Regions from separate parts of the Homo sapiens genome. Here all the other regions are linked to region 1. The links are contacts of gene promoters, found by promoter capture Hi-C in human tissues and cell types (Jung and others, 2019). All regions are on one chromosome and are shown on one strand. Each heading gives the region's core, a stretch centred on a gene start or on the middle of the fragment in contact. The rest is flanking DNA. Distances are from core to core; before and after follow the strand shown. Region 1 holds the start of KCND2 (potassium voltage-gated channel subfamily D member 2). Region 2 overlaps LINC02476 (long intergenic non-protein coding RNA 2476). Region 3 overlaps LINC02476 (long intergenic non-protein coding RNA 2476). Region 4 has its middle 350 kb from the start of LINC02476.

Region 1 (2,775 bases), core at 252-2,751:
TCTTCAGTTCCTTGTCCTCAAACTTAAATGGTGCATTAGCTCTGACTTCATTACTACTGACACAGGATTCCTTAAATCTCTATTCTGTAAACAAATAAACAAACAAAAAATACCCTTTTATCTCTACAGAAAATCCTGTACATGATAAGGATATTTTAAATTCTCTGGTTATTTTCTATACTCATTTTTTAGTTTATATATTTTCTTTGACGTATCCCATTTCAAATTTTCAAGGTTGACACATCATGCCTGTAATCTCTAGGGCTTAAAAGTCAATTTCCGTAAAGTACAACACACAGTCCACTTATTTTACAAACCAAGGGCAGTCAAACCAAGCCATGAAAAGTAATTTTTAGGTAGAAATTAGGCTACTATTCTTCATCAATACAGATGAAGCCTCATTATTGCCAAAGATCTTAATTACTATGATGATGATGATTCAGTAATCTAGATTTAATTTTCAAAGGAATTTCAAAAGGAAACTCTCCACATCTCATCCCACAACTATCCAAATGCAGACTCAAGCCTAAGTAGTATATGTCACATAAACACAAAAAAGGTGGGTGGCAGCGAAGGGGTTTGGGGATGTTTATGTGATCTGACTCTCTGTTGGACCAGTTAATTTTGATCCTTCACCTTCCTAAAGCATCCAAACCTTAGGTGCAGATTTAACTTCTCGCCATCCACGCCATCTAGTGGCTTGTATGTGTTACGTTTGGTTTTAAGGATGATTCCTAATGACTCGGGGGCGGGGTACGCGAAAAACAAAAAGGTTGGTAGCGACAATTTTCCTGTGTCTCTCTACCTCAGTAACCCCTCATACGAACACCTTTAACTCTTTTAACTATTTTAAATATGCGCAGTGATGCGCAGAGAGGATGAAGGGGACGCAAACTTTCAGAGACGCACGCCCCTTGACGATGACATTTAGAAAAGGGCTCCACATCCCTGTTATTCGTAAAGGACGGGAAAAGGAGTTGTGTCAAGACCTCGATCGAGGAGAGTCTCTGATTTTTTGGCAAGTTGGACAGATGGCATATCAATCCCTGCAACGTTAACAATCTGGTTTTGAAAATAAATAAAAACAGAAAGAGGAAATGCACTTAAAAATTCCGCGTCGGAGCTTTGCGGGTCTTGCCTTCCAGTCGCCCCCAGAAGACAACCAATTCCTGCGCATTCCGCTCCGCTCACCCTCCTTCCCAGCTTCTCTCGCTCTCTTTCCCCCCATTTTCCCACGCTCGCCTTGAACCGGGACTCGAGAGGCAGAAGCAAGGCACGGGTCCCCTTTCTCCTCTCCTCCACCAAACCACCGCAGCCCAGCACGTGAAGCTTCCCTTTGTTCATCCGAGGCTCGCTTTTCTCCCCAGCAGATCCACCTGGATGCTCTCCCTCGGTGACATTTTGCGCCGGGGTTGGTGGGTGGCTGGGGTGGAGCGAGAGGAGCCCGAGGGGGCGGGGGCGGAGAAAGGTCAAGCCGAGGGAAAGGCAGGAGACGCCTTTCCTAACCTGCGTGGCGGGGCGTGCGCGCGGTTATTTATTTATTTTCTCCTTATTTATTGATCGCACTAGCAGAGCAGCGCGGGGAGCCCGGGGAGATGCAGGACCACCCACTGGCGGGGAAGCAGCTAGCAGCCCTCCCGCGCCCCCGCGCTGCCGAGCGCCTTCTGCCTCCGCGCTCGGACGAGAGCCCGTGCCGGCCCCGGCCCCGGCCCCACCGCGCCAACGCCGCCCGCCCGGCCGCCCCGCAGCCCCGCCGCCCCGCAGCCCCGCACCGCGCTGGCCAGGCTCCCGCGACAGTGGCCCCGCAGTAAGTTGGCAGGAGCGAGTCCCCTCCGTTCTCGCCTCCCCCGCACCTTTTGAACTTGTTGCTGCTGCTCTGCTCGCCTGCGCCTGGCTTTTGGAAGGTGAAAAGGAGGAGGGAGGCACGGAGGGATGGGGGAAGGGAAAGAAGAGCTCGCTTGAGCTTTATTTATGCTCTCTCGGCGCATCGGATTCGGCTGCTCGCGAGCTGCTTTCTCTCCTCTTCCCTTTCCGGGTGCACGGCGAGGAGAAAGTCTCTATGCAACTAAGCCCCGGCGCGCACTTGGCCAGGTATGTACCGCGGGAGCGGCGCGTTCTGCGCGGAAGCAGATGCTGCTGCCGCCACGGCGGCGGCGGCTGCCAGCTCCTGAGCTCTGTAACTGTCACACTGCACCTGAGCTGAACTTGAAAAGAGAGTGAAGGGGCGATTGGGCGAACGCTTTTGGCAGACACAGAGGGTGTTTGTAGACGTGGGGGAGGAGAATCTCTATTAACGCCCCCCACCGTAACCACTGCACATCACCTCCATCTCTGCAAATACAGCCCGAGGAGTAGAGGCAGCAGCAGCTGGACCCCCAAAGAGAGACGTGGGGCAGCGGCTGTGACCGCATCTCCTGAGCTACAACAACAGGTCGCCTTTTTGAGACTCCTTTGGCGGGAAGGGCTACTTGGAAAGGAAGGTTTGAAAGAGTGAGAAGGGTAGGTGTAAGGGTTCCCTAATTCGTCGAAAGAATTCTATTGGGTGACTCTCGTTCGTCTTCTCTATCCTACACTCCACATACTGACCCTATATTATCCAGACTGTGCCGGGGAGAAATCAAAAACACCTGTTTGAAGAAACGGCTGCACCTGTGTGCTTATTTGTGCCAGAGGGTGGCCTAGCCCACCTGCAGGAAGAGATTTGGCTGGGTTCTGTTGAGGGTGATTGTTAGGACGTTGTATTTTGTTGCCATTATTCCAAATACCTGTCTTGGA
Region 2 (2,821 bases), core at 67-2,566, 530 kb before region 1:
TAGGGAGAATTTTTTTTTTTATTTAAAGAAAGTACTAATGGCTATTATTAGTCAATAAGATTACAACCTGCTAACTAGATATAAGTATTTCTTGTGAAACTTAAAGCTTATTACACAGAGACAAAAATCTAAAAGTTTTACAATGTGATTGCTACAAGATTTCTTTTCTTATTAATTTAACTCATTGAAAATAATGAGTCTTCATCATTTAGTGCTGAAAGTTAAAGATTCTTTTAAACTCAAGATGAACATGAAAACTATTATTTTACTTTGTCATTATTGTTATTTAAAAATTATAGCAGATCTTGCTGGCATCATTCTATTGTAAGTGCAGTTTGTCACGAGTTTATGACTCAATGGTTTTAATTCATATAAAAACAAACCAGCACACAAAGTTGCCAGTCTTTTTTTCTGAAAAAAATTAAATGAGTTATTTTTATCACAAAAGACACAGAATATAAATGAACAAATAAATCAATATACATTTTTAAATATCCATATTTTGTTGTTACAGAAAATGAGGTAATGTTAATTTAAAAATATATTTATGAATATTTTTCTCACTTAAATTCAGTTGTCAGTTGCAATCTAAATATGACACCAGCATGATTACCATTATTAATAGTAATGGTAATTAGCTTGAATAATAGTAATTATTAATAATAATTCTAAAAATACTATTTTACACACTAATATGTCCCTAAAACTATGTTGAAAATGACATTAAGTAGACACTGAAAAAATTACTGTTCATCAGAAATACTTGAAATCTTTACAAAAAGCCATAGTGAAAAGACAAAGGTACTTTGTAGTTTTGTAAATTAAAACATTGGTTAAATATAACGAGAGAGTTGCATATAAATTGTTTCATAAAATCATATTTTCTGCTGTGTGAATAAAGCCTCATTTATTGATATAATATTTTCTTTTTACTGTGACTTAAAATGTGGCAGAATAATTAATAAAAATGTAGACCCTCATTAATATGACATAGAATGTGGTATAATGCATCTGGCTGAGATGCATTACACAGGATAATAATTACTTATGGTACTAGAGGTATTCATCCAGTCTCACAAAATAGTGTTGCTAGTATGGCATTACAGTGTGGTTTACATAGTGTAGATACATTTGAGGGTTCTATGTAAATGAAAACCGCTATAAATAAATAAGGAGAAATAATTATTTAAATTCAAAGGAAAAGTTCTTTGAAAAGACTGATAAAATTGATAAACCTTTAGAAAGTCTCACAAAAGAGAAAATTCAAGAGTAAAGACAAATTGCTAATATAAGAAATACAATAGTTCATATAACTACAGACACTGCAGAAATCAAAAGGATAGTAAGGGAATAATAGAAGTAGCTCTACATATCTGAACTGAACAATTTGGACTCTATGAACCAATTCTTTTAAAAGTACATACTAAAACAATTCTTTCAGTATAAAATACATAATTTAATAGCCTTGCAACTATTAAGACATGAATTCATAATTTTTAAAACAACCCAACAAGAAATCTTCCAGCCCTGATATTCACTGAAGAATTCTAAGAAACACTTAAAAAGGAATTAAAACAAATTCTATACCCTTTTTTTTACAGAAAAGAAGTAAATACTTCCCAAATAATTCTTTAAAGTCAGTATTAACCTGACTTTAAAACTAGATAAAACACACACACAGACATACACACACATCCAAAAACTACACACCAATATCTCTCACAAATATACATGCAAAAATTCTATACCAAATATTAGCAAATAGTACTTAGTACACAAAAATATCTATATACACTATGACTAAATTAGGTTTATTTTGGGGATGCAAGGCTGATTGCACATTTGAAAAGTAGTTAATTTATGAAATTAGCAAGCTAATTTTAAAAAAATCACATGATCATATCAATAGATAAAGAACAAACCTCTGACAAAATTCAACATCCATTCTTGATTATAAAAAATCAGAACAATAATAAATATGTGGGAACTTCCCTGGATTGGTAAAGAATATCTACATAAAAATTGAAGCTGACATCATATTTAATGGTGAAAGACTGAATGACTTTCCTCTAATATGGGAAACAAAGCAAGGATGCTCACTTTCACCACTAATTCTATTTGATACAAGTGGTTCTAGACAGGAAAACAAGGCAAGAAAAAAATTTAAAGCATACAGTTTCAAAAAGAAGAAATAAGACTGCTGTTTTGTGCAGATGTCACAAATGTCTGTGTTAGTCTATTTTCACACTGCTGATAAAGACACACCCAAGACTGGGAAGAAAAAGAGGTTTAATTGACTTCCAGTTCCACATGGCTGAAGAGGCCTCACAATTACGGTGGAAGGCAAGGAGGAACAAGTCATGTCTTACATGGATGGCAGCAGGCAAAGAAAGAGCTTGTGCAGGGAAATTCCTCCTTATAGAGGCATCAGATCTTGGGTGACTTATTTACCATCATGAGAACAGCATGGGAAAGACCTGCCCTCATGATTCAATTACCTCCCACCAGGTCCCTCCCACAACATGTGGGAATTCAAGATTAGATTTGAGTGGGAACACAACCAAACCATATCAATATCCATGTAGAAAATCCCAAAGTATCTACAAAAATTTCGTAAAGCTAATTAGTGCATTCAGCAAGGTCACAAGGTACAAGATCAACATACAAAAATTTTTGCATTTCTATATTCTAGCAATGAACATGTAGACAACAAAATCAACACTACAATATTATTTAGTTATTTAAAAAATGAAATACGTATAACTTTTAAATGTCTAGGTTATTTTTACTGAAAACTATGAAACACTGATGAAAGAAATCA
Region 3 (2,700 bases), core at 28-2,527, 550 kb before region 1:
GTTCTTAGATCACCTTTTAGGAACATAAATCTGTAAGCCATTTTTGTCAAGATATATTAAAATTAAAATAATTTATCTATGCTGCAATTCCTCTACTGAATATGTACCCTGAAAGACAAGTATATGTGTGCAAAGGTGGCCATATTTACAAATGCTTATCGTTGATTGTTCATAACAGATAAAAAATGGAAAACTCTAAAAACCCATTTGAAAGAAGCCAATTATTATTGCTATATATTCTTTATTCTATTTATATAAAGTTTGAAATATGTCAATAGTGTAGTGCCAGAAAGCAAGTAAGTGGTTGTTGGGGGTAAGAGATGAGAAGTGACCTTGATTGTCAAAAAGCACATAAAAATGTGGGGGTTAATGGAAATATTCTATATCATATTCGTGTTGGTGTTTCTATTATTATACACACAGCTCATCAAATCAAACATTGAAAGTTGGAGGATTTGTTTGTAAATTATATTTTACTAAAGCTGATTTAAAACTGAAGGAGAGAATGGTGATGATGAATATGTAGTATCTTGCTAATTCATGTTGTTGGTTTTAATCTCATTAAGAATAAACACTGCAACTCTTCTCTATGACATTTAGAATCAATACTAATATTGCTAAGTAGTTGTCTTAGACTGTTCATGCTACTGTAACAAAATACCTCGGACTAGGTAATTTATAAGTAAGAGAAATTAATTTTCTCTGTGTTCTGGAAATAGACAGTCCACTATTAAGGGGCTGGCAAAGTTGATGTCAACAGAACTGTCAACAGTTCTTATACTGTTCCTTCCTGCTGTGTCCTTATGTGGTGGAAGGCAAAAGGGCAAAATGACCTAATTAAATCCCTCCAGTTCTTTCATAAGGTCACTGATCCATTCATGAGGGTAAAGCCTACCTAACTTAATCACTTCACAGAAGGCCCCAATGCTTAATACTATCACATTAAGTCTTAGATTTCAATCTAAGAATTTTGGAAAAATATATGCATTGAAACCATAGCAGTAGCTTATTCTATTTATTGTGTTGTTCTAGTTCTGCATCTCAAGGCAAGACATGTGAAGTCAAATATTTTATTTTCACAAACTTTTCTACAGAGAATAATATCCACTTTTACAGGTTGTTTTATATAGTTGGTAATTAAGAGGAGAATAAGAAATGCAAAGTATGAAGGGTAAGTAGCAAGAGGGTATCTTTATATTGTAAAGGTGCATCCTTAGAACTCCACTAAAGGTCTATAAAGTAATCCTTCAAAAAAGAATACAAATAAAAATTATACAACAACAAAAATCAAAACTGGTAACCAGATGGCTTCATGACTGAGAGCTCAGTTGCAGTTGTCCTCTGACGGTCAGGAGTGATGGTAAGACATGATTTTATAGAATTAGGTTCACTATGCTCAGCCGATCTACCTGTATGCCACTTTCCTGTTTTCAAACATGCGTTTTATATAGACATACCTAACAGTCACCAGAATCTCCACACTAATCCTTTGATTCTAAGATACGAGTTATGGTAGTAGAAAGTAAAATGGGAGAGTTCCCTGACTCCCCCGGCAGGAAATGTGACAGGGTGTGGCTCGCCTGTTGAGTCGCCTGGCTGCTCAAACGCCTTGCAAGAGGGGGAGCACACAGACTGGCAGGTGAAGGAGCCCAGGTGGGCGCGTGTTACAATGTGCCCTTTTAGCTTTGCCGTTTGAGGATGGCTTGAGTATTAATCAGCTCAATTAACCCTCTGCCTTTCTGCAAGGGCAGAGGGCCAGTGTGACAGCTTTCTGGATCCTGAGCTTCTGTCCAGCATCCAGGAAAAATCAAGTTACACATGGACTCCAAAGATGAATGCTAGGTTTTTACTGAATGGTGGAGGTGACTTTCAGCAGGATAGATGGGGAGCTGGAAGCAGGGAGATGGAGTAAGAAGGTGATTCTCCCCTGGAGCTGGAACTTCCAACAGCCAAACCCCTCACCGACTGCCCCAGCCGAACTCCTCTGGGTGTCTAGACACCCCTCCTTTTCTCTGGCGTGCTGCCCTGCTGCTTTCTGCCACTCTCCACCACTCTCTGCTGTTCTCTGCTGTTCTGTTCCTCTGCTCCTCTGGATGTTCAGCCACCTGTGTGTGTGCCTGCTAAGGTCTCAGGTTTATATAGGCACAGGATGGGAGGCATGGCAAGCCAAAAGGCAACATTTTGGGCACGAAAACAGAAATGCCAGTTCCCATTTAGAACCGCAGTCTCCAGGCATGAGCATGGGGCCTTTGCCGGGGAACCACCCTCTTCTACCCAGTATTTCCCTCTCTCCTTCCTATATCAAAAGGACAGAAAAAACCCCTGAAAATTGCTACCCAGGATTTCAGCAAAGAAGATGTAGAGGAGAGATGGGCCTATTTCATGGGATCCACTGTACCATGTAACTCCAGAAGTTGCCAGCTGACAGTGATAAACTGGCCTCTTAAAGGTGCATGTTAGATGCCAGCAGCTCAGTGATACCCCATGATGAGTGGTCACAACTCTTTAGGATGTGGACAGCTCTTAAACCAATGCAGGTATGTAAATAAATGGGTCCAAGAATAAGGGGGTAGAAGTAATAATGAGGATACTTGAATTTTTACTTTTCAGCCTCTAACTTTTGTATAAAAAGTGAGTTCCTTGTCACTGTCTAGTCACATCTGCAATAATCTATCTGGTGTTTCTGAGAGACAGAGTAGG
Region 4 (2,967 bases), core at 443-2,942, 720 kb before region 1:
CTATATAGCTGCTGTTTCTTTTCTTCTATCTTATTTGTTATACATTTAATTCTTCATGAGTATGCTTATTTTGCCAAGATAGGTGCTTTTCTGTATTTTTATAGCTTGTTCCCATATATCTCTGTGGTTAAGGAAAGATGATGATAACTAATAGGTAACATAGATAACTAATCTCTCTCTCTTTTTCTTCTCATATATGTAACACTGCTCATAACCTCAGTCTTTTCCTAATTTTTATCTCCTTGAAGTAAGTAGTAAGTATAAAAATTATCAATTTGAAAGCCAGCAAAATGTCAGCCTGCCCAAGTCAGCTTTCAGTTTAGATTCGGCCATTTGGAGATAGACAGTGTGTAGCTATGTTGCACACCCTCATCAAAAACAGATTATGTAAACAATCAGTAGCACATACCTATGTCACGAATTTGTGAATTACTACCAGGAATGAGGAAGAAGTCATGACCCTTTAATTACTGCAGGAAACAAAAAAAATAGAAGATTCACAAACTTGTTACCCACCAGAATAGATGATTTATAAAATAATAGTTTGTTGAGTGCTTCAGAAGCAATTGTGTGTGTATGTGTGTGCACATGTGTGTGTCTACAAACGTGTACACATTTGTTCTGTTATTCCAGTCATTACAGGTAAGCTTCATTTTGCTGTTAATCACTTTTACAATAGGTAGCTGGCATACCTATTACTTCAGTAATATTTCTTCTTACATCAATACTCAGAGAATAGCTTTACCCACAGAGTAGACTGCAAACTGTAACAGAAGAGGAGCAGACCCTATCAAAATAAAATAGAAATGGTGTGTACTCACATAATCATTGGTAATAAAATCAATAGACAAAGGAAAGCAAGAAATGCAGATGTCAGCTACTACCTCTCAGTGTAGTGATAAAAGATCGTCCAGCTTATATGAAATCTATGATTAACTCTCATTTACTTGAAATAATTTTATCATACCCAAAGGGACAGTTAAAGGAATACTGCTCTTATCACGATCAAAACACCAGAAATGAAAATCCCACTGGGGAAACAAATATTTTAATAATCAGTTCTATATCCACAGCAGTAACACAGTAGTAAAACGTCATGGATAACCAAGCTATTTCAACCTTTAATTTTCAACCTGCTTTAGGCTAGCATTCTAAATCAGAAACCAAAGGATCTCTAGAGTCCTGTGCTATTAAAACCAAATTCATTTACAGAAAGTGTATTGCTATAATTTTACCATTTACAAAACACTTTAGACAGTGTTACAGTATTGACATGAGTTTTATGGTTTCATCTCTTTACTACATACTCTGTGAGAAGAACTGATAGTAAACGTTGAGTACACAGACAGATTTTGGAATAAATTTGTAAATTTCTAACAAAGTCCCTATGTAAATTAGTAGCATGAATGCAGGCAGATTTATATGTCCACACTAATTTTAAAAAACAAATGGATTCGTTTGTTTTCCTATGAGTAACAAAACAAATAACTATATAAATCAGATGCAGGATGCCAACATATGTGTCTACTGGAAGATTTAGAAAGCCTGAAATAAAACAATGAAAGTAAACATTTATCAATAATTCCTTGAAGGCCACATTCAATGCTTGTTAACAGATTGATACTGTTATAGGAATGGGGTCGGAATCCAGACCCCAACAGTGAGTTCTTGGATCTCCCACAAGAAAGAATTCAGGGCGGGTCCATGGAGTAAAGTGAAAGCAAATTTGTAAGAAAGTAAAAGAACAAAAAAAATGGCTACTCCATAGACACAGCAGCCCTGAGGGCTCCTGGCTGCCCATTTGTATTTATTCCTTGATAATATGCTAAACAAGGGGTGGATTATTCATTCATGCCTCCTTTTTTAGACCATATAGGGTAACTGCCTCACATTGCCATGGCATTTGAAAATTCTCATGATGCTAAAGGGAGTGTAGCAGTGAGGACAACCAGAGGTCACTCTTATCGTCATCTTGGTTTTGGTGGGTTTTAGCCAGCTTCTTTACTGCAACCTGTTTTATCAGCAAGGTCTTTATGACCTGTATCTTGTGCGAACCTCCCATCTCATCCTGTGACTTAGAATGCCTTAACCATCTGGGAATGCAGCCCAGGAGTTCTCAGCCTAATTTTACTCAGCTCCTATTCAAAATGGAGGTGCTCTGGTTCACATCCCTCTGACAATAGCTTTCAAGAAATCTGCTCTGGAGGATCAAGAGTTTAAGAAATAAAGTTAATATTGTCCTAAATAATGCCTTTTACTGTCTTCAGCAAAATATCTAATAACGCTATTTGAACAGGGCGTATCAAAGTCCAATCCCTTTTGATGATTGCAGAACAGAACAAAGAAATTCTATGTTTTGCATGGAAAAAAAAGAAAGACCAACAGAACAAAAACAAGGGATCTTGGGATCTTGGCCAAGCAATTAGATTAGACTGACAATAGGCCAGCAGCTGACAACAATATTTTGGAAATGGTTTTCTAGTTACTAAAACTGTACAAAAGTGAGCCAGAGTGTAAAAATGTGCAACCTTCAGCCAGGTCATTTCAAGAGCAAAAATACTAAAATTTAAGAGCCAAAATACATATCCTTCTGCTGATGTTAATATTGTTGAGCATTCTCTACATTTGAATGTAACAGCACTATAGCTGGTCATCTAAACAGATATTGGCTCCTTAGCCAGCAAGTAGACACTTATTTGAAGCTGAAATAAATAATTGATTACAAATTCAAATGTCCTTCTTTACTTTACAAAGACAACTTTACAAAGGCAACCACAGAGATTGAGTTGCAAATATTGCCAATTTTTTTTTTTTTTTTTTTGAGACGGAGTTTTGCTCTGTCGCCCAGGCTGGAGTGCAGTGGTGCGATCTCGACTCACTGCAAGCTCCGCCTCCCGGGTTCACGCCATTCTCCTGCCTCAGCCTCCCGTGTAGCTGGGACTGCAGGCGCGCGCCACCATGCCTGGC

What was found. Contacts are between HindIII fragments. The study calls those that stand out against the background at their distance.
Region 2: a fragment that was not itself captured here is called in contact with the fragment with the promoter of KCND2 in region 1 in 4 of the 25 tissues and cell types used here (dorsolateral prefrontal cortex, mesenchymal stem cells, mesendoderm cells and 1 more).
Region 3: a fragment that was not itself captured here is called in contact with the fragment with the promoter of KCND2 in region 1 in 4 of the 25 tissues and cell types used here (H1 embryonic stem cells, heart left ventricle, mesendoderm cells and 1 more).
Region 4: a contact is called between a fragment that was not itself captured here and the fragment with the promoter of KCND2 in region 1, in 3 of the 25 tissues and cell types used here (heart left ventricle, mesendoderm cells and thymus).

What each region holds. Positions count from the first base shown.
Region 1 is chr7:120,271,674-120,274,448 of GRCh38, forward strand. It overlaps KCND2 (potassium voltage-gated channel subfamily D member 2), which reads left to right and starts at 1,502. Exons shown (of 6, transcript NM_012281.3): 1 at 1,502-2,775. RefSeq lists silencers at 589-688, 1,608-1,757 and an enhancer at 2,198-2,267. The HindIII fragment of the contact is 5,227 bases long and covers 453-2,775 here.
Region 2 is chr7:119,743,107-119,745,927 of GRCh38, forward strand. All of the region lies in intron 4 of LINC02476 (long intergenic non-protein coding RNA 2476), which reads right to left. Among named protein-coding and RNA genes, the nearest start is that of LINC02476, 160 kb to the right of the region's middle. The HindIII fragment of the contact is 4,324 bases long and covers 1-2,821 here.
Region 3 is chr7:119,722,563-119,725,262 of GRCh38, forward strand. All of the region lies in intron 4 of LINC02476 (long intergenic non-protein coding RNA 2476), which reads right to left. Among named protein-coding and RNA genes, the nearest start is that of LINC02476, 180 kb to the right of the region's middle. The HindIII fragment of the contact is 7,150 bases long and covers 1-2,700 here.
Region 4 is chr7:119,554,190-119,557,156 of GRCh38, forward strand. No RefSeq gene overlaps it. Among named protein-coding and RNA genes, the nearest start is that of LINC02476, 350 kb to the right of the region's middle. The HindIII fragment of the contact is 6,938 bases long and covers 1-2,967 here.